6 separate regions of the Homo sapiens genome follow, and all the other regions are linked to region 6. Evidence: promoter capture Hi-C in 16 types of primary human blood cells and fetal thymus (Javierre and others, 2016). All regions are on one chromosome and are shown on one strand. The core of a region is centred on a gene start or on the middle of the fragment in contact, and the rest is flanking DNA. Distances in the headings are between cores, read along the strand shown. Region 1 has its middle 70 kb from the start of FBXO28. Region 2 holds the start of LOC105373061 (a long non-coding RNA gene). Region 3 has its middle 34 kb from the start of TP53BP2. Region 4 has its middle 9.7 kb from the start of TP53BP2. Region 5 overlaps TP53BP2 (tumor protein p53 binding protein 2). Region 6 holds the start of NVL (nuclear VCP like).

Region 1 (4,432 bases), core at 481-2,980, 290 kb after region 6:
TTATGTTAGTAATTTATTGAAATAAATTTCCTTTGTGTAGTTATGAAATCAATTTAAAATGTAATTTATTTTATCAGTTTTTAAGAAATGGCATTTGGATTTTGTGTATACTTAGAACAGCTTCCCCTCCGAAGATTATGTAGCACTTTCCCCATGTTTCTTTAAGTACCTTAGCATTTTTATTTTTACATTCAGCTGAAGCAAGGAATACAAAATTAAATAGACGAGTAATAGAGGAAAGGAGAATTTTTAAAAAACCACCAAAAACTACAGAAAATGTACAAACAGGGCAGAGCTCTAGTCTTGGGAGAACCAGGATAGCGGTGGCATTAACAGAGCAGGGATCTGGGGACGCAGGATCAGGCAAATTCCCACTGCTGGGAGCAGGCGCACAGGGATGGGCTCTGTCCCAGGAATGGATCGGAGGCCCATGCCTTCCTTAAGGCCTTGGGACTCAACAGCTGTGTCACTTGATGCTCATCCGGGCTGTTCCACGTGCTCTGATTCCCATGTTTGAACACAGACTAGTTTTAGAGCTTGGGGAAACAGGTCCTCTGGCAGGTGATTTTCATACCAACGTAAGAGATTTAATGACCAGAAACTGGATTCAGATGCTTCAAATACTCACTCCCATTCCCCTTATCAAAGATGCTAGTGGTGTGGCTAATTTAAAAATATTTTGTAGAGACGGGGGTCGCGCTCTGTTGCCCAGGCTGTTCTTGAACTCCCAGCCTCAAGCGATCCTCCCACCTCGGCCTCCCAAAGTGCTGGGATTGCAGGCATGAGCCACTGACCCCAGCCAATGGTGTGGTTTTATTGTCTTGAGCCAGAAGTGGTCTCATAAACATTTTATTTTGTGATATGATTATTGTCAGAAAGAAGGATGGAGACTTCATATTTTAAATTATTATTTTTGTGGATATTTTGAAAAGGTAGTTGTTATGACAGCCATTTAGCAGCTTGGTTGTTACTTAGGGGTGTGTGTGTGTGTGTGTGTGTGTGTGTGTGTGTGTGTGTATGTTGTAAATTTTTTTTTTTTTTTTTGAGACGGAGTCTCACTCTGTCACCCAGGCTAGAGTGCAGTGGCGGGACCTCGGTTCACTGCAAGCTCCACCTCCTGGGTTCACGCCATTCTCCTGCCTCAGCCTCCCGAGTAGCGGGGACTACAGGCACCCGCCACCACGCCCAGCTAATTTTTTGTATTTTTAGTAGAGACGGGGTTTCACTGTGTTAGCCAGGATGGGTGTGTTGTAAATTTTTATTGAAGTGTAACACATCTACAGAAACTGTAGAAATCTTAAGTGTACCTCCGTATGGTACCTTGATCAGAGAACACATTACCACTCCCTGGAGGCTTCCCTCTTGCTCCTTCCTTGCTCCTTTCTGTCCCCACAATGACTCCTCTTGCAATTTATATCACCATGGATGAGCTTTGCCTGTTTTGAACTTAATTATAAATGAATCATGCAGCGTGTACATTCTGTGTCTTGAGGCTTTCATGCAACATTATGTTGTGGCGTGCGGCAGTAGTTGGTTATGCTCATGCCTGCATTTCCCAATGTTTCTCTCCCATTCTACTGTTGCTGAGAATTTGGGTTCTTTCCAGTGTTTGATTATAAATAGTGCTGCTATGAATATTCTTGTGCATGTCTTTTGTGAATATATGTTTGCATTTCTATTGGGTATATGCCTAGGAGTGCAAATGCTCAGTTATTGGGTACGCATGTGTTCAGATTTGGAAGAAATTGCCAAAGGTTTTCCAAAGTGGTTGTGTCCATAAATGTGAATTTTTCTCCTAATTCATAATGATAGATACTCTGAAAATTAGGTTGCTCAAAACCATACATTTTACTGGAACCCTTTTTAAAAAATATTCTAAGTGAAAACCATTTTGGCATTGTTCTCCGGTTTAGAACCTTGGAATCTTGCTCACTTTTTCATGTGTGGTGAAATTGGGTTATGGTCACCAAAGGACACTCCATTTAATAGCATTGGTCTCCTCGACTCATTCCTGGCCAGCTATTGAGAAAATGAAGCCTGGATTTAGTATTGAACCTCTTCCTCATCCCACCCCTGGAAAACACATGGTTTTTGCCTTTTCATTTTATGGATTTGATGAAGCCTATGTAGCTTCATTCTAATGGAGGAGTGGAGCTTCATCAAATGGGGGAGGGAGGAGTGCTAGTGGGGGAGGGGGAGGAGGGAACCGCTGGTGGGGAGGGGGTGCTGGTGGGGAGGGGGAAGTGCTGGTGAGGGAGAGGTGTGCTTTGGGGGGGAGGGAGTGCTGGTGGGGGAGGGGATGCTGGTGAGGAGGGGGAAGTGCTGGTGGGGGAGGGGATGCTGGTGGGGAGAGGGGTGCCGTTGGGGACAGGGAGGTGCTGGTGGGGAGGGGGGAGTACTGATGGGGAGAGGGGAGTGCTGGAAGGAAGGGGGGTGTTCTGGAGGGGAGGGGGAGTGCTGGTGAAAAGGTGAGAGTGCTTATGGGGAGGAGGGTGTGCTGAAGGGGAGGGGGGAGTGTTAGAGAGGAGGGGGTTTGCTGGAAGGGAGGAGGGAGTGCTTATGGGGAGGAGGATGTTGGAGGGGAGGTGGGAATGTTGGAGGGGAGAGGGGTGTGCTGGAGGGGAGGGGGGAGTGTTGGAGGGGAGGGGTAGTGTTGGAGGGGAGGGGGTGTGCTAGAGGGGAGGGGGGAGTGTTGGAGGGAGGGGGAGTGTTGGAGGGAAGGAGGGTGTGCTGGAGGGAAGGAGGGTGTGCTGGAGGGGAGGGGGGAGTGTTGGAGGGGAGGGGGGAGTGTTGGACGGGAGAGGGGAGTGTTGGACGGAAGGGGGGAGTGTTGGAGGGTAGAGGTAGTGTTGGAGGGGAGGGGGTAGTGTTGGAGGGGAGGGGGTGTGCTGGAGGGGAGGGAGGGGAGGGGGGAGTGTTGGAGGGAAGGGGGGAGTTTTGGAGAGGAAGGGAGAGCGCTGCGGGGGAGGGGGGTGTTCTGGAGGGAGGGGGAGTGCTGGAAGGGAGGGGGGAGTGTTGGAGGGGAGGGAGGAGTGCCGGAGGGGAGTAGCTGTGCTGGAGATTAGGGAGCAGTGCAGGACGGAAGGTGGTGTTTGGGTCTACAATTCCTCAAAGTGGGCATTTGCAAGGAAATGTAGCTCCAAACCCCACCTCCCCTCTGGCAGTCCTCCCTAACCTCCGTAACAACCTTTCTTTTGGAGATCAGTGTAGTGTGTTTTTGCTGATCTGGATGCTGGCCACTGAAAAGGACCCGTGGCCACTTCATCATTTGTCAGACCAAGCATGTGTATTACATAGGGCTCTACACTGAAGTGTGGACAAGATCTTACTTATGTGAACATTCCATTTCCTCTGGTATTTAAGTGTTTACTTATACTGACAACTGATATCTGTCAAAAAAGAGAGGTTTTAGATTGTCATTCTGTCTTTTGTAATTATGAGTTTGTAACACACCATTCTAGTGGGCTCACCTAACAGAGGCAGCCTAGAGGTTTTGGTGATTAAATTGGGTGGAAGTAACTGGATGACTGTTTATGGGCTTATTTCCTGAAAGGCTGAGATACTCTGCTCTGACCGGAAAATCTATGTAAAGACTGCAACATTGGCTCCCATGCAAGAGGATCATTCACCTATTCACCCATTCAGCAAAATATTTAAAATACATTGTGAAAAAAATATATATGGCGGCCCATGTACTGTGTTTCTAGTGTGGGAGGGAAACAAAGATAAACTAAAAGTAAAACTTAGATTTACCAAACTTGAATTTTCATATCTAGAAAGGGGTTAGGCCAAATGCATAGAAAGCTTGAAAAGAAAGTTCAAGTGTCAAGAGAAAAATAAATCAAGTGTGCCAGGGGTCCAGATGAGAGGGAGGTTCTTGTAGCCTGAAGAATTTGAAAAAAATTATAGGGGACGTGGGATTTGAGCAGGGCCTGGAAGGATGGGGAGGATGCAGACCTGTGAAATTGAGGGAAAGGAATTCTTGTCATAACTCTTAGTGCTGGGGGGCTGGGAGGACCTGATCCTGAAGCTCAGATGGGCACAGTAGAAGAGAAAAATAACAAAGGCGGAGCCCAAGCCAAGACCCAAAAAGTCTACAAAAATGGAAACTTTCCAAGAGGGGAAACAGGCACAGACTTCTTGGTAGTAGCTGGGGGATATCTGGGAGTGTCCTCTTAAAGGGTGCCTGAGAGCGTGCTCCCAGGTGTGACTGACCGCTGGGAAACAGGATTCTGGAGGCTATTTGTGGCTCTCACCTCTGCTGTCTTTTGGTGCACAGTAAGTGCCTTAAAGGGATGAGCTTCATATACAAAATGCTGTCTGACTACGCCAGGGGAAGGGAATGTATGATCAAAGATCTGAGAAGGGGCTCCCTGGGATCTGTTTAGGAAAACATCAACAGGGTAGCTCAGTTTGGTCAGCAATGGTGCGA
Region 2 (4,541 bases), core at 823-3,322, 270 kb after region 6:
AAATGTCAGGCATAGAGACGATAATAATGCAACCTTATACTGTATTTATCTGATAATTACCCTATAGGTGATTTAAATGTTTAATAAGTGCCATTTTTGTGTTCTGTGGACTTGCAAGTGTCTCTCTAGGTGAATAATTTGGAGTGGTAAAAGGATCATTTCTCGAAGATGGAAGCAAAACCTCAAGAACACTGAGTAAAAGAAAACCTTTGCAATTCCCAGCAAATCAGAATTGCTCAGAGATCCCATTGCAGCAGTCTGTTTTCTTTGCTTCTTGGAAGAACCGTTGGAGGAGCAGCATTTAACACTGACATGCACACCCTCTTCTAAGTGGGGCGAGGTAGTGGTAGAAATAATGGAATTGAAGGCTATTTCGCCTTTAGAATTGGATTCCAAGTGGGCCGCACAGTGTTCTGTGCAAATGTGCTTTTTAATGTTCATAGGGAGAAAGACACAGACTCGTTAAAAGGAAAATGTAAAAATTTCTGGAAGGGACAAAGGATTAGTAGCCACCTGTGGCCTGATGTAAATTCCTTCCCTGGTACTCTTTTTTAAATTTTTAAATTATTTTATTTTATTTTTTGAGATGGAGTCTCACTCTGTCACCCAGGCTGGAGTGAGCACAATCTTGGCTCACCTTCGCCTCCTGGGTTCAAGTGATTCTCCTGCCTCAGCCTCCTGAGTAGCTGGGATTACAGGCACGTACTACCATACCTGGCTAATTTTTGTATTTTTAGTAGAGACAGGTTTCCCCATGTTGCCCAGGCTGGTCTTGAACTCTTGTGCTCAAGCATTTCACACACCTCAGCCTCCCAAAGTGCTGGGATTACAGGAATGAGCCACCGCATCTGGCCTTTTTAAAAAAAATTAATCTGGAAATCAGCTCCACCTTCCCTGCTACTCTTTAGCCAATTCCTTCCTTCTCTACCAACACTTAGAATCTTTTTCTATATTGGCAACACCCTTTTTCTCCTGTCTATAAACATGTTCATGTTTTCTTCCATCTAAAAAAGCTTTCTCACTTCAGTGAAATTTTTAGGGAAAAATGTAAAAAAATGTAAAAAGAAAAGAAAAAGAAAAAAGAATCTCTCTTCATATTGCATTTCTCTATTTCTTCCTTTATGTCATTGCTTGAAAGAGTAACAGTCTACACAGCGTTTGACATGTAGTGGGGTACTTTATAGTTATAGAATAGCAAAGGCATGCAAGTTGTAAAAACTGTCTTTATAAAGGTTTTGTAAAAAAAAAAAAAATCTTTCCTTGAAAAGTAGACATTGATAAGGAAGAAGAGGAGTTCTGAGCTTTGGTGGTTTTAAAACATGGCCCCCAAATTCTGTGATACTCTTCTCATTGAGAAGTGGAGTCTATGTCACCTCTCCTTGAATCTGGGTTCTGTGCTTATTTGGCTAATGAAATATAGTGGAAGTGAGCAGTGCCAGTCTCCAGGACCAGGTCTTCAGAACCTGGCAGCTTCCACTTCCTGTTTCTTGGACCCAGGCACCATGTGATGAAGAAGCCCAGGCCACACAGAGAGACCATCCTTAGATGTTCCAGCTGAGGGTCAAATACAATGGTTATTGTACAACACATATGTTTTGAGGTGGTTTGGTATGCAGTCCTAGATAACTGGTGAGCTGGTCTGTTCCTTTTCTAATCTTGCTTTCCATTAATCCTGACTGGCAGATGTAACTCCTTTAACTGGCCTGCAGGCTCCCATACACTCACATCTGTAGCCCTATCTTGCCGCTAGGCAATAGTTACAAACCCAAACGGCTTCAGGGGTGTGCAGGGCAGAGAACAAAAGAACCTTGACCAGCATAGCCTAATAGAATGTTCTCATGGAAAGTTCTTAATCTACGAATCCAATACACTGTCTGGCACACAAAGTGTGGCTAGTGTGAATGAGGGACTGAACTTTTAATTTAATTTAATTTTAGTTTTTTTTTTTTTTTTTTTTTTGAGACAGAGTCTCACTCTGTCACCCTGGCTGGAGTGCGGTGGTGCAGGCTCGGCTTATTGCAACCACCACCTCCCAGGTTCGAGAGATTCTCCTGCCTCAGCCTCCTGAGTAGCTGGGTGGGACTACAGGCATATGCCACCACGCCCGGCTAATTTTTGTATTTTTAGTAGAGACAGGGTTTCACCATCTTGGCCAGGCTGGTCTTGAGCTCCAGACCTTAGGTGATCTACCCACCTCGGCCTCCCAAAATGCTGGGATTACAGGTGTGAGCCACCATGCCCGGCCAATTTTAGTTAATTTTAACATGAAATGTAAAAGCCACATAGAGCTAGTGGCTAACTATGTAGAACAGTACAGCTCTAGACAATACCTGCTTATATGAAAGAAAACACTGGTCTAATTACATTGTTTTAGCATTTCTTAAGTCAAAGTTTTAGTGCATTCTGATTCTTAAAAATTGCATCAGTAGTACCAAAACAGCAGATTCCTGCCCCATCTTTTAGTCTCACTCGGCAGAGGCAACCACTTTCACTTCTCTTGGGCATTTCTTTTGATATTTACCTCTATATGTAAAGAATATGCTTAAACTGTTATTTTAAAATTTATCCTTTTTGGCCACTATCAATTTATTTCCTGTTACAATAGATGAAGATTTAGCAAGTATTAGAGAATAGATAGTACCCAATCTTTTTAGCATCATAAAATATGCCAGCTGGCCGTGGTGGGTCATGCCTGTAATCCCAGCACTTTGGGAGGCCGAGGTGGGTGGATCACCTGAGGTCAGGATGTCAAGACCAGCCTGGCTAACATGGTGAAACCTCATCTCTACTAAATATACAACAATTAGTCAGGCGTGATGGTGCATGCCTGTAGTCCCAGCTACTTGTGAAGCTGAGGCAGGAGAATTGCTTGAACCCGGGTGTTGGAGGTTGCAGTAAGCTGAGATCATGCCTCTGCACCCCAGCTTGGGTGACAGAGTGAGAATCTGTTTGAAAAAAAAAAAGCCAGTGTATCAGTTTCTTATCACTGCTATAACAAGTAATCACGAGCAAGCCTAATGGCTTAAAACAACACACACTTATCTTACAGTTCTGGAGATCACTAGCGGGACACACACCCAGTTGGGCTAAAATCCAAGTGTTACAGGGCTGTGTCCCTTTCTGGAAGCTTTAAGGGAGAATCTGTTTCCTTGCCTTTTTTAGCTTCTAGAGGCTGCCAGAGTTCCTTGGCTCATGTCCCCTTCCTTCCTCTGTAAAGCCCACAGTGTTGCACGTGTCCAACCATTCTTCTGTAGTCACATCTCCCTCTGACTACGAACTCGGCCAAGAAAGGTTCTCTGATGAAAAGAACAGTGTGATTGGATTGGGCCCATCCAGATAATACAGGATAATCTCCCCACCTCAAGGCCCTTAATTTATTTATTTTTTTTTTTTATTTTTTTTTTTTTTTATATTTAGTTAATTTAATTGAAATGTTTTTAAATATATTGTTTCATTGCATTGATCACTAACTTTGAAGGGATTTATTTTTATTAACTTGCAGCATAGAAAGGAGTAAAAATAAACAATACTCATATTTTCCCCAGTTAATGAAAATAAACAAGTATTAGTAAAAAGCTTCTGATCTCTAAGAGTACATAATAGAATTCTTTTTGAGAATAACTGCTGTTTTGACAAATACCATATCCTTCAAGACAAATCGAACAACCAAAAGACAATCTGCCTTTATTTCTCAAAATGACTTTGACCTCAAATTCTGAAACTGACAGGGTGACTTTGCTCAGTGAATAAATATGATACAGAACCTTTTAGAGGGAATCGAATATGCCGAATACCCAAGTGATCTCTCTGTCTCTCTTTTTTTTTTTTTTTTTTTTTTAAGGCCCTTAATTTAATCACATCTGCAAAGTCGCTTTCGCTCCATCAGGTAACGTCTTCACAGATCCCGGGGATTAGAATGTGGATGTCTTTGGAGGGTTATTATTCCACCTTCTGGATGTACCTTTCCTCTTCTCTATTTTCAGTGACATTGCCTAACCTTTAGAAACACTGTGGTGGGGTGGTATATAAGATCTTCAAGCTGTTCCCCTCAGACTTGCGCATTTACTTTTATTGGATTTGTATTTCGCTGTGCAGGGCGTAACAAAATATGCCTGCAGGTCCTGTATGGAGGCTGGTCTCCAGTCCGTGACAATTGCATCAGAAGTGCTGTAAAGAATCCTGCCTCAGTGAATCCAGACTGATGGTCCAATGAGTCTTGTTTCTCGGAGCTCCTTGAGGGCAGGGACTATTCTCCATTATAGTCCAGCGCCTGCCACGTACTAAGTGCTCAGAAAATACTTACCCCATGACTGAAGGATCTCTTCCTGACACTGGAGAACCAAGATTAAAGCCACCTCCCTGGGCTGAGGGTCCTTAACATGTGTGGCCTGGAGCTTTGATCTGTAGGACCAATCCTGACCTCATAGAGAGGCATTTGACCATGTAAATCAACATTCTAGGACTGCCTCCAATTCACTCTTGCTTCTAGACTGGAGGAGCCTGTGAGCTGGTTCTGATGCCTGGTTCGATGTGATCGCTAA
Region 3 (4,175 bases), core at 988-3,487, 450 kb after region 6:
CATCTGGCTAATTTTTGTATTTTTTGTAGAGACGAGCTTTTGCCATATTGGCCAGGCTGGTCTCGAACACCTGGGCCTCCAGTAATCCGCCGGTCTTGGGCTCCCAAAGTGCTGGGGTTACAGACGTTGAGCCACCATGCCCAGCTTCCTTATTCATTTCTATCCTTTGGTAATTTTTCAGTGAGAGTATTTGGGCAGTAAACGTTCTAAGTCATTATGTATTTTAAAATAATTTACTTTTTTCCCCCTACCTATTCATCCCTCCTCCCTAACCCCTGGCAACCTCTGATTTTTTTACCATCTCCACAGTTTTGCCTTTTCCAGAATGTCATATAGTTGGCATCATACAGTATGTAGGCTTTTCATATTGGCTTTTTTCACTTAGTAATATGCATTTTAAAGTTGTACTTCTTTTAAAATATTGTTTTGGCTATTTGTGTCACTTCGTATTTCCAGATACATTTTAGAACCAATTTGTCAGTTCACACACACACTTGTGCCTGCACATACACGTGCACAAATACTTGTTAGGATTTTGGTTGAGATAATATTGAATATACAGATCAATTTTGGGGAAATTACTATATTTTAAATATTCAGTCTTACAATTTTATCCTTTCATTTATTACATCATTCTTAATTTTTCTCAATAATGGCTTATACTTTTCTTAGTAGGGGTGTTGTACATCTTAGAATCCTATTGGTTTTCTAATTATTCATCAATTAGCTTGGTAAATTGTACTGTACTAGGAATTAGCCAAGTTCACCTAAATTGGAAAATTCATTGGCGTAAACTTGTTTAAAGCATCCTTTTAAAAGATTTTTCATGTCTTCAGTTTCTATTAAGATGTTTCCCTCTTCATTTACAATGTTGATTATTTGAACATTCTTTTTTTATTCTTGATCATTATCATCAGAGGTTCATCATTTGATTGGGGTTTCCAAAGGGGCCAAGTTTGACTCTATTGTTCTTCTGTCTTGTGTATTTGTTTACAATTTGTATTTTTTTTATTATTTCCTTCCTTCTGCTTTCTTTTAGTTTATTTTGCTATTTTTATATGACTTTCTTAGGTGGATTCTCATTGGCTCATTGATTTTCAGCTTGTCTATGCTAGTCTGCTGGAGTGAAATGAAATAATTACTTTTTTTGATTTGTTTAAAAAATTTTTAATAACATAAAATTCAAATATATTCAAAAGTAAATGCATCATGATCTTTCACGTATCCATCATAGCTTCAACTACTAGCTCATGGACATCATTTCATCTATATCCTTACTTCTACTCGCTCCCGCTGGCTATTGATTATTTTGAAGAAATTTCACATTATCCTTGCAGTGACAAAAAACAATAATTCCTTACTATCATCAAATATCCAGTCAGTGTTTACATTTCCCCAATTCAATTCTCTTCTCTCTCCCTCTCCCCATAGTTTAATATTTAAATCAGGATTCAAATAAAGTGTAGACACAGTCTCTTGATCTGTGTGCTCTTCCTATGTCCTTCTCTCACTCCCTCTTTCCTTTGCAAGGTGCTTTTGAAGAAATGGGACCATGTGACCTATAGAGTTTCTCATCTTTTGGATTTTTCTAATTGTGTCTCCTGGGTGTCATCTAACCCACGGGTCCGTGGCCCATTAGGAATGTGACCGCACAGCAAGAGGTGAATGGCGGGCAAGTGAGCATGACCGCCTGAGCTCTGCCTCCTGTCAGATCAGTGGCAGCATTAGATTCTTATAGGAGCATGAACCCTATTGTGAACTGCACATGTGAGGGATCAGATTGCATGCTCTGTATGAGAATCTAATGCTTGATGATCTGAGGTGGAATAGTTTCATCCTGAAACCATCCCTCCTCCCCGCCTGCATCTGTGGAAAAATTGTCTTCCATAAAACTGGTCCCTCATGCTGCAAAGTTTGGGGACCACTGATCTAACCTGTTGTTTGGTCCCCTATATTTCCTATAAGCCAGTAGTTAGATCAGAAGCTTAATCCTTCAGGTTTGATTGCTTTTGGCAAGGGTTTATATCCAGAATGTATAAATAACTCTCAAAAGTCAATAATACAGAAACAAACAACCCAACTTTAAAAATGCATAAAAGATATGAACAGATATATTTCACCAAAGGAGATATATAGGTGGCGAGTAAATACCTGAAAAGATCCTCATCATTAGTCATTAGTAAATGATCTGATTTTAATTATTTAAACTAATTAATAAAATCAACTAATATGATTATTACAGTAGTAAAAAATTATGAAATTAATCATGAAAATTACTTGCATTAATGTATTTAAATTTTTATGTTAAAAACAAATTAACAGCACAATGAAACATCACTGTCTAATTAGTAATCTAATTAGAATGGCTGTAATGAAAAAAGATTGACCATACCAAGTGTTGGCAAGAATTTGGAGTAACTGGAATTCTCATACACTGCTGGTGGAACATAAGATGGTGCAAATACTTTGGAAAATAGTTTGAAAGCTTTTAAAAAAGTTAAATGTATAGCTACTATATGACCACTCCTAGTTATCTACCCAAAAGAAATGAGAACATGATGTGTCTAGGCAGACCTATACACGAATGTGTTCATAACAGCTTTATTCATTTTTTTGTTTTTGTTTTTGTTTTTTTTTTGAGACAGAGTTTCACTCGTTACCCAGGCTAGAGTGCAATGGTGCGATCTTGGCTCACTGGAACCTCCGCCTCCTGGGTTCAAGCGATCCTCCCACCTCAGCCTCCCAAGTAGCTGGGATTACAGGTGTGTGCTATCACACCTGGCTGATTTTTGTATTTTTAGTAGAGACGGGGTTTCACCATGTTGGGCAGGCTGGTCTTGAACTCCTTACCTCAAGTGATCTGCTTGCCTCAGACTCCCAAAGTGCTGAGATTATGGGTGTGAGCCACTGCGCCTGGCCTAACAGCTTTATTTGAAATAGCTCAAACCTGAGAACAACTCAAAGGTTCATCAAGAGATTAATGGACAAACAAATTGTGGTACATCCAGACAATGAAATACTACTTAACAATCATGATAACAACAAAGAAGAAATGAAATATTGAGATACATAAAAATATAGATAAATCTCAAAATAATTGTTAAGTGAAAAAAGTCATCTCCCCTAAGTATATACTGTATGATTCCACTTACATAAAATTCTAGAATATGCAAGGTAATCTGTAATGAGAGAAATCAGATGGTGGCTGGCTACCTGGGGGATGGAGTTGGGGAGGAAGGAAAAAGAGGTAGAGATTTCAAAGGGTGCTGAATGTTAGGTTGAAACCTAATCCCCAAAGCAATAATGTGAAGAGGTGTGGTCTTTGGGAGGGGATTAGGTAATGAAGGCTCTGTCCTCATGAAGGGATTAATGCCCTTATAAAAGAGGCCCAAGGGAGCTTGTTCACTCCTTCTGCCATGTAAGGACACAGCAAAAAGGTGCCATCTATGAAGCAGAGAGTCCCCACCAGACACCAAATCTGCTGGTGTCTTGATTTTGGACTTCCCAGCCTCCGGAACTGTAAGTAATAAATTTCTATTGTTTATAAATCATCCCATCTAAGGTATTTTATTATAGCAGCCTGAATAAATTAAGACAAATGGACACCAGGAAACTTTGGGGTGTGATGGACATGTTCATTATCTTGATTGTTGTGACATCTTTTCACAGGCTTGTACATGTGTCAAAGTTGTCACTTTAAATATTGCAATTTTTTATATGTCAATCATACCTCAATGTGGTTGGCAGAATAATGGCCCTAAAAGATGTTCAAGTCTTAATCCCCAGAACCTGTGAATGAATATGTTCCCTCTATGGCAAAAAAGGAATTAAGGTTACAGATAGAATTAAGTTTGTTAATCAGCTAACCTTAAAATAGAGAGATTATCCTGGATTATCTGGGTGGGCCCAGTGTAATCACAAGTGCCCTTAAAAGTGGAAGAGGAGGCAGAAAAGTTGACAGTAAGGATGCCACTGGAGAGGGATTTGAGTTGACTTTGAAGGTAGAGGCTGTGAGTGAAGGAAAAAAACAGCTTCTAGAAGGTGGGAACAGCCCTCATGTTACAATCAGCAAGAAAATGGGGATGTTGGCTCTGCATCTACAAGGAATTGAATTCTGCCAGCAGCAAAGAAATGGATTCTCCCTTAGAACTTCCAGAAAAGGGTATAGCGTGCTG
Region 4 (4,461 bases), core at 1,880-4,379, 480 kb after region 6:
GAACTCCTGACCTCAGGTGATCCACCCACTGTGGCTTCACAAAGTACTGCGATTACAGGCATGAGCCACCACGCCTGGCCAAATGCCTTCGATTTTATGTGTACTTCATTTCACATAAATGTGCCCCAGACAGTGACTGGATCATAATAGACATTCAGTCGTGTTTATTGAATTAAATTGAAAACTTGAATGTAAATTGATATTCAGGGGTAAAGAAAAGCATGTTTATTTATTTATTTTTGTAGCTGGGACTATAGGCGCATGCTACCATGCTGGGCTAAATGTGTATTTAAATGGACAGGGAGAATTTGCCATAGTCGGTTCTTTTGTATAAGCATACTTTGATTACTTTTTTCAAGTTCATATTTATTCTATTAGATGTAGTAAATGTGATGTATGTTTGAAAATAGATTTCAGGGTATGTGTGGTTGGGGAATTCATGTGGAGGTCAGAGTAGAAGCAGATGTGAGAGGGTCAAGCAGAAGAAAACATGGCTGCCAAAGTGTTTGCGTCCATCGGCAAGTTTGGCCTGGCCTTAGCTGTTGCAGGAGGCGTGGTGAACTCTGCTTTATATAATGTGGATGCTGGGCACAGAGCTGTCATCTTTGACCGATTCCATGGAGTACAGGACATTGTGGTAGGGGAAGGGACTCACTGTCTCATCCCCTGGGTACAGAAACCAATTATCTTTGACTGCCGTTCTCGACCACGTAAAGTGCCAGTCATCGCCGGCAGCAAAGACTTACAGAATGTCAACATCACACTGCGCATCCTCTTCTGGGCCGTTGCTAGCCAGTTTCTCGCATCTTCACCAGCATCGGAGAGGACTATGATGAGCGTGTGCTGCTGTCCATCACGACCGGCATCCTCAAGTCAGCGATGACTCGCTTTGATGCTGGAGAGCTAATCACCCAGAGAGAGCTGGTCTCCAGGTAGGTAAGCAATGACCTTACGGAGCGAGCAGCCACCTTTGGGCTCATCCTGGACGACGTGTCCTTGACACATCTGACCTTCGGGAAGGAGTTCACAGAAGCGATGGAAGCCAAACAGGTGGCTCAGCAGGAAGTAGAGAGGGCGAGATTTGTGGTGGAAAAGGCTGAGCAGCAGAAAAAGGTGGCCATCATCTCTGCTGAGGGCGACTCCAAGGCAGCTGAGCTGATTGTCAACTCACTGGTCACCGCGGGGGACGGTCTAATCGAGCAGGAAGCTGTGGAAGACATCGCGTACCTGCTCTCACGCTCTTGGAACATCACCTATCTGCTGGCGGGGCAGTCCGTGCTCCTCCAGCTGCCCCAGTGAGGGCCCACACGGCCTCCACTTCCGCGGGCTGACCGGGCCACAGCCCCGGTGATTCTTAACGCCGCCTCCCTTCTGCTCCCACTCCAGAAATCACTGTGAAATTTCATGATTGACTTAAAGTGAAGGAAATAAAGGTAAAACCACTTCAGATCTCAAAAAATAAAAAAAGAAAGAAAATAGATTTCAGAAAACAATTACTTTAGGAGAAAAAAATCTTCAGTGGTTACAGTTTGAGGACTCATCAGTTCGAAGTGAAAATTCTCTCTAAGCAGATACTACTCTCCTTTTTCAGTTTTGTAGTCTCCTAAATTTACCTTCTCTGCTGACCTTTTAAAAGCTCCCTCTGGGCCTTAACTAGAGCAATAAAAATTGAGTTTGGCCAAGACTTTTACAAATTTTACTCTTGGGAGTCTCTCTGAACCTGTTCTGGGGTTCAGGGGCTGCCTGACAAAATACAAAAAAAGTTACTCTGTCTCAATTAATGTACATTGGGCGACAATAAGAGGTGGGGTGAAATATTCTCAACTGTCAATAAGAAACTTGAATGTCATACATAACAGTTATTAGAAGTGAGTTATGAATTCCTCATAAGTGGGATTTAAATGATGATATAAAATCATCGAGTTAGTTTCTCCTTGTCTCTCCTTTTTTTTTTTTTTGAGTTGAGTCTCACTCTGTCGCCCAGGCTGGATACAGTGGCGTGATCTCGGCTCACTGCCACCTCCACCTCCCTGATTCAAGCAATTACCCTGCCTCAGCCTCCCGAATAGTTGGGATTACAGGCGCACACCACCATGCCTGGCTAATTTTTTTTTTTTTTTTTTTTTTTTAGTAGAGACGGGGTTTCACCATGTTGGCCAGACTGGTCTTGAACTCCTGACCTCAGGCAATCTGCCCACCTCAGCCTCCCAAAGTGCTTGGATTACAGGCGTGAGCCACCATGCCCGGCCTAGTTTTTCCTTTTCTAATTATTTATCTTTAGCTATTCAGAGAAAAACTTTTGTGGCAGCAACACAATTACATTCATTTAGTAATTGAGAGTCAAACATTGTGTGCTAGGCTAAAGGGAATGCCCAGAACTTTAAGAACTGGTCCTTTCCTCAAAGGAACTTAGGCCACGTAGCTGTAAAATCAGTGTGCTTTTCATAGGTATTCTTGAAAAATACTTGAATAAATCCCAAGTTTAAAAATGATTTAAAAATGGTTAGGATGCAGTTCATTCAGTTCATTCTCATCTAACACTGTGTGTTTAAGAGGTGACCAAGAAGAAATACATGTACATTCCTTACAGTAGAATAAAGCCCCTTTGCAAGGGGGAGAATGGAAGCTGCGACATACTTCGTTGGTGGCCAATGGGCCTTTGTGAGTTCTTGGCACTTGGAAGCCTGTTTTCAGTATTTCAGGCTAAAATTCTCTTGCTTGTCAATAGAGAAGCCTTAATTTTTCTTTCTAAAGTCTCATCACATAGATTTTCTTTTTTTTTTTTTTCAAATGCTCATGGTAACACGGTAGTTATAAATATAGTTTTTTTTTTTTTTTTCTGAGACAGAGTCTCACTCTGTTGCCCAGGCTGGAGTATAGTGGCACCATCTCGGCTCACTGCAGTCTCCACCTTCTGGGTTTAAGCGATTTTCCTGTCTCAGCCACCCAAGTAGCTGAGTTAACAGGTGCTCACCACCATGCCCAGCTAATTTTTGTATTTGTATTTGTATTTTATTTATTTATTTTAAGACAGAGTCTCACTCTGTTGCCCAGACTGGAGTGCAATGGTGCGATCTCCACTCACTGCAACCTCTGCCTCCCGGGTTCAAGCAATTCTCCTTCCTCAGCCTCCTGAGTAGCTAGGATTATAGGCGGCCACTACCGCACCCGGCTAATTTTTGTATTTTTAGTAGAGACAAGGTTTTGCCACGTTGGCCACGCTTGTCTTGAACTCTTGATCTCAGGTGATCCACCCGCCTTGGTCTCCCAAAGTGCTGGGATTACAGGAGTGAGCCACCGCGCCCGGCCAGTGTATTTTTAGTAGATACGGGGTTTCACCATGTTGGCCAGGCTGGTCTCGAACTCCTAACCTCAAGTAATCCATCTGCCTCAGCCTCCCAAAGTACTGGTATTACAGGTGCGAGCCACCGCCCGGCCTCATAAATATAGTTGTTTATGAAAGACACCACCATTGGCCAATCATCAGAAGGGGAGCACTTTAGGTCTGTATTTCAGCAAGAGATTTACATTCCATAGATCCTTTCACTCTCATTCAATCAGAACTTTTTGTAGGCATTTATGAGATGGCTATTTGGGGTGACAGATATAATCTATGGCCATAGAACTGGGAAACACTGACTTGAATCATGTAAGCTACAGACAAATGAATAATTCATTGATTTAGTCACTCTTTAATTAATTTATTTATTCATTCTACTATTATGGACTGAGCACTGTTTTAAGTACTGAAGAATCCATGCTAAACAAGGATGAGTAGAGTCCCTACCTGTGGGTTACAGTATTGTGGGAGAGACTGACATTAATTGAATAACACAAACCAGTGTAATGAATACAGTGAATACAGTGGTGACACATGGTGTGAAGGTGAGGTCCTTGGAGCTATGCTACAGCATGTGCTAGAGGAAGCATGAAGGGCAAAAGGGAAACTGAAAAAGGTGGTGTGGCTGAGTCTCACAGAAGGAGAGGACTGTGGTACCTAGTACCACTGAAGGATGGGCAGAGACAGGCATTCAAGGGCTTGGAGGCAGAGTTAAGGAAGGACATCAAGCAGTGCTATCTTGTGATCAGATTTACGAGAAATGATGGTAGCTTGAATAGCATGGCTGTAGTCACGGAAGAAAGGGAGCTTGATGAGATATTTAGGAGACGGAATGAATAGACCTTGATGATTGAATAGATCTTAGAGATGAGGGAGAAATAAGGTCAAACATGATTCTCAGGTCTGTGGCTTGAGAAAATGGGAGAACACTTGTGGCATACACTGAGACAGGAAGTACTAGATGAGAACCAGAATTGGGAATAAAAACTACCCCTTGGTTTTAGACATGCTGAGTTGAGACATGTTGATATGGAAATCCAGCACTATTCAATAGAGCTTTCTGTGATGATGGAAGTGTTCTGTATCTACACTGCTGAGTATTTTAGCCATTACTCACATGT
Region 5 (4,141 bases), core at 924-3,423, 490 kb after region 6:
GTGGGAAGAGTAGGAAAGTCTACAGAAAGCTGCCAAAAATAAATTAAAGGGTTTTAATTTTATTTATTTTTTATTTTTTACCACACCTAAGGCCCAGCTGACAGAATTGGTTGTGAAGGCACTCAAGAGTTTGTCACTTGCTCTAATAAATTGTTTTAGTGACCCTCAGAAGCCCCAGGGGTGAGAGGAGAAACAGTAGCACTTACCCGGGGTTGGAAGTAAGACCAGACAGGAATGGTGGAAGATCACTCCTGTATCCACAAGCTCCTTCCTATGGGGCTAAAGAGAAACCATACTTTTTATATCACCACAGAGCTCTGACAGCTACACAGAGCAGTTTAAATTTAGGCTTGAGAAAAAGCCTTCTGTCACCATGTTTCTTTTCAACTGAGTAGGGTGTATCAGGTTTCTCAAGGAAGCCATAGTCTGTCTTAAAATGCTTTAGGACAGCTTTACTTTTGACCACATGACCAGAGTGCTCTGGAAGCTTCTGATGCTTCAACCTAAAAGTTCCTTGACCCCCCGCCCCCCCCCTTTTTTTTTTAATTTTAAAACAATAGTATCTTCATTTTCCTGACACAAAGTAGCGAGTGACCTAGGAAAATCAAGTCTGAGTTAACTTTAATTCTAGAACGGTCTCTTTGTGGCAGTGTTTTCTGCATCACAACAAAATCTAGATAATAACTGCTTAGTTTGTGATATGTAGGTAATTTTCAAAAATTTTGTTAATTTCCTGAAAAGTTTGGGGGGTATCTATTTTGGATAATGCATTTATTTTAAAGGTAGATAGGATCTTTCTCTGGTAGGTTTTGCTTGTTGCTTTTAGTAGCCACGGACCTGGGCTTTCATCCTGCTGCTTTTCCTCTCTTCTGTCTTCTCCTGGAGCTGTTGAGTCACCAGGGCACACAGATCCCTCTTCTCCATTTCCTGGGGCACCTGTTTGGCCTCACCCCTCTCCTGCCTGGACTGTTGTAATGCTCTCCTTATCTATTTTCTTACCTTTTCTGTTCTCTGCCCCATCAGGCCATTTAACACACTGCTTCCCTGGTGGTCTTTCTGAAACAGCAATGTGTCTCTTCCCTCTCCAGAATTCTTCAAGTCTGACCTCTGTTCCTTACAGCATAAAATATATAAACTCTTTAGTGAGATAGAAAGTTTCTTTATTGTGTAGCCCAGTGGATTTCAGCCTTTTTGTGTCATTGATACATTTCCATTTCAGAATTTTTAGCTGCATAATGGAAATGATTGAAAAACTCAAAACACCAAGTCAGTTATTAAAACATAGCACCAGCTATGGCACAGTAGTGGGAATGCCTTGTGCTGTGCAGAAGAGCATCCGGTCACCTCGTGGTTCATTCGGCCTTCCTTCGGAATTGTGTTTCCTCTTGCTCACAGCAAGTTGTACTCTGTTGCATATTGCTCTCCACTCTTGCATATTGCCCTCCATGACGTGCTCCGCTCCATCGGACTTTGCCATAACAGCATGTGTATAAAACAAATTTTGTGCATTGAAAGTTTTTGCAGCACATTCGTGGCTTGTGGGTTGGGAATTGACCCATCTCTTCTTTGTCCTGCCTTGCGTCCCACCTCTGTGCTTCAACAGTTCCAGGACTATAGTTGTGAGGGCATGCCACAGTTTCCTGTGTCTTTATACACAGTGTTTCTCTCCCTAGATGGTCCTCTTCCTGCTTGTCTTATTCATCCTACAGTTTTAGCTTAATAGTACTTCTTTTATGTTAAGCCTTCTTCCACTGCTTGGAGGGGATTTTTTTTTCTGTTCTCACTGGACTTCAAATGCTTTAAATGTACTTTCACCAGGAAGTTCTCATTTCTCAACATTGCACCCTTTTCGTGGTTTGCAGTGCTTCTTCATTGTTCCATAAGCTCTGTGAGGACATGGAGCATGCCTTTTCATCTTTGTGTTTCTAGCACTTAGCACAGTGTTTGGCACACTGTAGGGATTTAATAAATATTGTTTGAGTTAATGGATGAATGAATATTCTTATTTTGGATTTTCTTTGGTGAGTGTAGTTCTTGCCTCTACTTCCATAGCAAAGTGGGAGGTAGGAAGGAAATAACTAGAAGCAATGGATCGGTTGTAGTTAGATCATCACGGATAGATCTTAAAAATGTAGTGCTTAGTGAGTAAAAGTAAAAAACAGAATGAAATCTGTAACAGTACCTTTACATAAAATAAGACGAATGCCTGGCAAACAAGACTCAGTTTAGAAGGAAGCACACCAACACTAAACTTATCAATAGTTGGAGCCGGGGAGGAATTAACTAAATGTATTTGTTCTTTTGCTTTATACATTGATTGTTTATGACAGATATTGAAGCAGAGTAACCTAAGATGAGTTGCTTTAGAGGATACGTTCAGAATTTGAAACTTATCTAAATTCAGCTTCAGGCATAGTTGAAAGAAGAGAAAAGGTTTCTTAATTTTACTTAAAGCAGAATTCTTTGAGACATTGTCTGGCTTTGAAAACATTCACTGTGAAGTAATACCATTTATAGATAAACATTTCTTGATGCTTCAGGATGTGAACATCCTCTTTGTCATGTTCTTGTTGCCTGTTAACTTTCTCCTCTTCGTGGAACTTTGAATCCCTGCGTCACAGTTTCAGTTCAGTCCAACAAACATGTATTGCATATTTGCTTTGTGTGAGATCTGACAGAGTTTTTTGGGGAGTGAGTTATAATGTAGGAGGAGGAAAACCAGGGAGGAGGCATTTAAGAACCAAAACATGTGTACTAAAGAATGTATAGACCAGTAGGACAGATAAGACAGGGATACAGACAACTACAGTGTGAATGGTTGTCAGAGAAGCAAAGAGAACATTTACTTCTGGCTGGAGGTGAGTGTGTGGGTAGGGATGGATGGATTGGAGGAAGTTTTATGGTCTTTGAGTTATTCTGGAAGGATGGGGATGAATTGACACTACAGGACAGAGTAGGAATCAGGTGAGCTACTCTGGGGAGAGAAGTGAGGAAAAGTGGCTATTTTAGATTCCTCATTTGGTGACTCGAGGCTATAACTGTGGAGTAGATAATTTAAAATAAATTTTAGGTCTTAATATTTCTTGTAATTGAAATGGAATTCCCTGAAATTCAAAATATGCAAATATAAATACCAGTGTATATGTGTCATAATGTATTGCTATTGTTGTTGGGTTAACTACTGGTATTATAATTAATATATACTACATAGATTAATACACACTGTTGTTATCTGCTAGTGAAATTAATACTCTACATTATTTGCAGCAAATTACTCAGAAACCTAGTTTCATGTTACTTCCCTGCTCAAAACCCTCTAATGCAGTGGTTCTTAAACTTAAGTGTGAGTACTGGGCCTCTCCTCTGGGGTTTCTGAATCAGGAGATGTGGAGCAGGGCCTGGAACTTTATATTTCTGACAAGTTCCCAGGTGATGCTTATGCTGTTTGTCTGAGAATTGCATGTTGTAAATCACTACTCTAGTGACTTTTCCCTTGCAATAAAGTCCGTACTCCTTATTCTTGACCTACAAGGCCCTGCCTGAGCTACCCCCTGTTCTCCCTGCCCTCATTGGCATAAGTCTGTATTCCTGATGTGGCGTTTTTTTCTGGTCATGGAATAGTCCAAGTTCATTACCACCTCTGGGCCTTTGATGAAATGTCTTCCTTCAGATGTTTCAAGTGGCTGTGGCTTCTTCAGTCTCAGCTCAAAAGTCCCCTTCACCCTGAGGTGTCTTTCCTAATCATGATCAGCCATCCTCCCCTCATCACTTCCATAATTCTTTATCATATCGCTTTATATACCATGCTCATTTGTGTGCTACCAGCCTCTCTTCTCTGCCCTAAAGAAGGCAAGCTTTTTCATCACTGTGTTCCTTTTGCTTTAACTGTCCTTTCTTAATAGGTATTTAGTAAGTACTAACGGGTGAATGAACGAAACTTCTTGTTGAAGTCAGCAAGAAGTTAGGATTGAGGGGAAGGCATAGAACCAGGAGCTTCTTTGGCATGGCTGGCTTTGATAGGATATGACTCCTATAGGTTTCTATGTAGAGGTCCCTGTTACCTATTCATGTATATGAAGTGGTTCTTTTACCAGACATCTATGACCAGCAGGCTACTTTATGATTTTTTCCTTAATTAAAG
Region 6 (4,661 bases), core at 1,875-4,374:
TTATTGCCTTCTGCACCTGAAGCAGTAGTGAGATGAACAACACATTCCCTGCCTTTAAGAAGGAGGTGGCTGGGTGCAGTGGCTCATGCCTGTAATCCCAGCACTTTGAGAGGCCGAGACAGGCGAATCACGAGGTCAGGAGTTCAAGACGAGCCTGGCCAATATGGTGAAACCCTGTCTCTACTAAAAATACAAAAATTAGCTGGGCATGGTGGCATGCACCTGGAGTCCCAGCTACTTGGGAGGCTGAGGCAGAAGAATCGCTTGAACCCGGGAGGCGGAGGTTACAGTGAGCCAAGATCGTACCACTGCACTCTAGCCTGGCAATATAGTGAGACTCCACCTAAAAAAAAAAAGAAGAAAAAGAAGAAGAAGGCAGCATTCTAGAGTACTTCAAGTTTACATATGAATGGCTGGTTACATAATTTGTAAGACCCAGTGCAAAATGAAAATAAGGGACAGCTTATTCAGAAAGCATTTCAAGATGGCAACAGTACAGCATTAAACCACCTGTGGGGCCCTTCTGAGCACAGGGCCCTGTGTGACTGCAGAGGTCACATACCCATGAAGTCAACCCTAAGTGTAGGATAGTATTCTATGACAAATTATAGACTAATAAACTATATTGCCTAGTACATGTCATGATACTACTAGGCCTTTCAATGTGGTTGTTTATTTGTTCGTTTTTTTGAGATGGAGTTTTGCTCTTGTTGCCCAGGCTAGAGTGCAATGGCGCAATCTCAGCTCACTGCAACCTCTGCCTCCCAGGTTCAAGTGATTCTCCTGCCTCAGCCTCCCAAGTAGCTAGGATTACAGGCATGGGCCACCACACCCGGATAATTTTGTATTTTTAATAGAGACAGGGTTTCACCACATTGGTCAGGCTAGTCTTGAACTCCTGACCTCAGGTGATCCACCTGCCTCTGCCTCCCAAAGTGCTGGTAGTATAGGCATGAGCCACCATGCCTGGCCTCAGTGTGTTTTCATTCTATGTTGGACATTTGGCATGCACAGAATTACATTTCATTTTAAAAATTACTGAGCATTGACTACATTTGTACTATATGCTGTAGGGAATCTTTGCTAACATTTAATCAAGCACATAAATACCTAATCAAATTTTTTAAATGTTATAAAAAGTTAGTTATAATTCTTCCACTTTTCCCCACAAGCCTAAAGCGCAGAGCAGAGACTGAAACTGGTAGGCACTCAATAAACACTTGTTGAATGAATGCAAGAAGGCTGGAAAGTCCAATATCAAGGAGTTGTTATTTGGTGAGGGCCTTCTTGCTGTGTCATCCCATGGCAAAAGGCAGAATGGCAACAAAAGAGCCAAATTTTATTCAGCCTTAAAAGTGAAGGAAAGGCCAGGTGCGGTGGCTTATACCTGTAATCCCAGCACTTTGGGAGGCCAAGGCAGGTGGATCACCTCAGGTCAGGAGTTGGAGATCAGCCTGGCCAACATGGCAAAACGCCATTTCTACTAAAAATACAAAAAATTAGCCGGGTGTGGTGGTACACACCTGTAGTCCCAACTACTTGGGAGGCTGAGGTGGTAGAATCTCTTGAACCCAGGAGGCGAAGGTTGCAGTGAGCTGAGATTGCGCCACTGCACTCCAGCCTGGGCAACAGAGCAAGACTCTGTATCAAAAAAAAAAAAAAAAAAAAAAGAAAAGAAAGAAGGAAATTCTAACACATGCTATATGAGGGCATTAAGCTAAGAAACAAGCCAGTCACAAAAGTCAAATACTGGAAGATTCCACTTATATGAGGAAGTTAGTGTAGTCAAAATCATAAAGACAGTAAGTAGAATGGTAGTTGCCAGGGGCTGGGGGGAGGGAGGAATGGGGAGTTATTTTTTAATTAGTATAGAGTTTTAGTTGTACAAGATGAAAAGAGTTCTGGAACTAGATGGCAGTGATGGTTGCATATTATGAATGTATTATCACTAAACTGCACACTTTAAAATGTTTAAGATGGTGAATGTTCTTATATTTTACAACTAAAAAAATAAAAAATAAAACTACACATAGTGAAGAAGTAGGAAATGAAGTTGCAACCAAACGGATCAATATTTTGAGTGGGAAATCTAATACTTAATTCAGTGCTAATTTTTATATTTTTAGTAGAGACAAGGTTTCACCATGTTGGCCAGGCTGGTCGTGAACTCCTGACCTCAAGTGATCTGCCCGCCTCGGCCTCCCAAAGTGCTGGGATTACAGGTGTGAGCCACCGTGCCCGGCCTCACGCCCTTCTCTTAATTCCATTTTCTCTCCCCTCTGCCCCTTAATACACTGCACTTAACCTTGTCATAAGCCAAGGAGGACCTGAAATAAGAATACTCAAAACACGGTTGAAATAAACAAGAAGACAGAAACTAAAGCCAGCATTTTTTTTTTAATGCTTGGTAACTGTCCCTTTGTGTCTCCCTAAGTGCAGGATAAACTTCTTGGGGCAAATACAAACGTTTGATAAAATTCTGGGCCAAGGAGTCCTGCACTGGATATATTCAACAAATTACCTGCCGATGATAACAGCGTAAGTCAAACGAGTTCTAAAAGTAACAAATGACTTAGTTATCTGGATAAATCCGTCCTTCCTTTTCTTTTTCACCTAGCCCTTTTGTCGGGCCTCTAAAATGTAAGATAACTACGTGGGAAAGCAAGCAGCGGCTGGTGGTGTGTTTTTACCCTGATTTTATCACTCCAAGTATCTACCGTGGCTGGTTTTGCGAAGACTAGCTTTGTATCAGAATGAGGTGTGGCTGGAACGCCTGAGGAAAGCAAACCAAGTTTTCCAGAGGACGCCGTTGACAGCGTCTCCGCACACCGCGCCGGGGTAGGAACTTCCTCCCACCTGGTTCGCCCGGCGGGGAACCAATAAAGTTGAGCGCGTTCAAAGGGGTCCTAATCTTCCAGGGTCCACTGGGCAGGCCTGCAAAATAAGGCCCCTAGAAACTCCCTGAGGTTTTCAAGTCTTCTCCCTCTCCTCGGAATTTTTTCCCCTTCATTCGCATTACTTTTATTCTGACGGAAACGGCGCGGGCTAGGCCCCAGGAGGGGCGCATTTCAGGTGCAACTGGCCCGGCGATCGCGGCGGGCAACCCCTACGAGGCCCCCGGTTGACTAGGAGCTGGCGGTCCGAGCTGTGGCTTGGAAGACCGACGCGATGAAGCCCAGACCTGCAGGGTTCGTGGATAATAAACTCAAGCAGCGAGTCATCCAGGTGTGTATTCTGCACCGCTTGGCCTCGCCAAGGGCCCCGATCGCTGCCCCAGGGTGCCACTCCCCTTTTGTCGGGTGGCATCCAGGTGGAACTCAACTAGTCTTCTTTCCCCAGTCTGGGTCTGGGCGTGCGTCTGTTTCTCCTTAGTTGGTGCTGCCGGGGCCTTCCCTACCCACGTTGGTGCGGAGTCTCAGGGAGAAGCCGGGGATGGTGGGAGGGTGCAGCTTGGTAGGGCTGCCCAAGTTGTCTGGTCGTCTTCAGCGCAGATCATTCAGTAGAGTGGAGGTAGCCTTTGAATTTTAACCTCTTTGGCTTGTGAAGTTAGCACAGGAATGGTCTTCAAACGCTCGCATTGTAAGAGGTCCTTGAGAAGGGGTGGCATAAATAATATGTTAATTTCCGTTCTCAAGGAACTTACACACTAAAACGAGATAACATGGGTCTGGCAACAGTAACAGGCACTTTGCCTACGGTTTTCTCATTTTCATGACCATCAGTAAAAAGCAGTGTGTGGCAAATACCTCAGAATGTAAGCAAGCAGTCTGAGTTAAAAGGTGGGAGAGAATTTTCTTCACTTAGGAATTTGTGAGCTACACATTCTCCTTGTTTTTCTTTCACTTCACCAGCCCCTAAACAATCTCCTTTTCGGACCCATCTTTTCCTACCAACTTGTAAATGTTGGAAGTGCTCTGTGCCACTGTTCTCTTACCTCCCCTTCCTCCTCTTTCCTCATACACCTTTCTTATCTATCCATACTTCCTATGTGATCTCATTTAGTGTAATAACCTTTGAGTAGTATCTACATACTCTATTATCTATGTATTTATTTCATTTTATTTTTATTTTTCTGAGACATAGTCTCGCTCTGTTGCCCAGGCTAGAGTGCAGTGGCTGTTTATGGGCACAATCATAACTCACTGCACCCTCGGCCTCCCTGACTCAAGTGATCCTCCCTCCTCAGCCTCCCCAGTAGCTGGGACTACAGGTGTGCACCACCACACCTGGCTAATTTATTATTATTATTATTATTTGTAGAGACGGGGTTCCACTATGTTACTCTGGCTGGTCTCTAACTCCTGGGCTCAAGCGATCGGGCCTCAGCCTCCCAAAGTGCTGGGATTACCGGTGCAAGCTGCTGCACTGGCCTCTGTATATTTATGACTGCTAACTTTATATCTCCAGTCCAGATTTTATCTTGAAGTACAGATTGATATATCCAGCTGCCTAGTCAGCATATCTCCAAATTAAAATGGCCAAGTGGAATTTGTGATTTTTTTCTTCCTTCAAATCTGCCCTTTCTTAGTGTTCTGTATCTCAGTAAATGATACTACCGTTCGTCCTGTTGTTAAGGCCAAAAACCTTAAGGATCATTCTGAGTCTTTCATTTCCTGTATACCATCTGTCAACAGCCTGGTTGGCTTTACTTTCAAAATATA

Evidence for each region. Contacts are between HindIII fragments. The CHiCAGO score rates a contact against its expected background, and 5 or more counts as called.
Region 1: a contact is called between a fragment that was not itself captured here and the fragment with the promoter of NVL in region 6, in 5 of 17 cell types (total B cells, naive B cells, naive CD8 T cells and 2 more). The highest score is 7.3, in total B cells.
Region 2: a fragment that was not itself captured here is called in contact with the fragment with the promoter of NVL in region 6 in 5 of 17 cell types (naive B cells, total B cells, total CD8 T cells and 2 more); the score reaches 8.9 in naive B cells.
Region 3: a contact is called between a fragment that was not itself captured here and the fragment with the promoter of NVL in region 6, in 1 of 17 cell types (naive B cells). The highest score is 6.3, in naive B cells.
Region 4: a contact is called between a fragment that was not itself captured here and the fragment with the promoter of NVL in region 6, in 1 of 17 cell types (total B cells). The highest score is 6.3, in total B cells.
Region 5: a fragment that was not itself captured here is called in contact with the fragment with the promoter of NVL in region 6 in 6 of 17 cell types (naive B cells, total B cells, monocytes and 3 more); the score reaches 12.4 in naive B cells.

The regions. Positions count from the first base shown.
Region 1 is chr1:224,041,753-224,046,184 of GRCh38, reverse strand. No RefSeq gene overlaps it. Among named protein-coding and RNA genes, the nearest start is that of FBXO28, 70 kb to the left of the region's middle. The HindIII fragment of the contact is 4,153 bases long and covers 1-3,806 here.
Region 2 is chr1:224,058,713-224,063,253 of GRCh38, reverse strand. It overlaps LOC105373061 (a long non-coding RNA gene), which reads right to left and starts at 4,388. Exons shown (of 3, transcript XR_001737824.1): 1 at 4,304-4,388. The HindIII fragment of the contact is 2,114 bases long and covers 1,016-3,129 here.
Region 3 is chr1:223,878,291-223,882,465 of GRCh38, reverse strand. No RefSeq gene overlaps it. Among named protein-coding and RNA genes, the nearest start is that of TP53BP2, 34 kb to the right of the region's middle. The HindIII fragment of the contact is 501 bases long and covers 1,987-2,487 here.
Region 4 is chr1:223,853,417-223,857,877 of GRCh38, reverse strand. It overlaps the pseudogene PHB1P11. Among named protein-coding and RNA genes, the nearest start is that of TP53BP2, 9.7 kb to the right of the region's middle. The HindIII fragment of the contact is 8,345 bases long and covers 1-4,461 here.
Region 5 is chr1:223,833,549-223,837,689 of GRCh38, reverse strand. The region is part of intron 1 of TP53BP2 (tumor protein p53 binding protein 2); the gene reads left to right. Among named protein-coding and RNA genes, the nearest start is that of TP53BP2, 10 kb to the left of the region's middle. The HindIII fragment of the contact is 3,367 bases long and covers 490-3,856 here.
Region 6 is chr1:224,328,635-224,333,295 of GRCh38, reverse strand. It overlaps NVL (nuclear VCP like), which reads left to right and starts at 3,124. Exons shown (of 23, transcript NM_002533.4): 1 at 3,124-3,225. The coding sequence starts at 3,169. RefSeq lists enhancers at 2,907-3,056, 3,077-3,126, 3,317-3,366, 3,417-3,556. The HindIII fragment of the contact is 14,633 bases long and covers 1-4,661 here.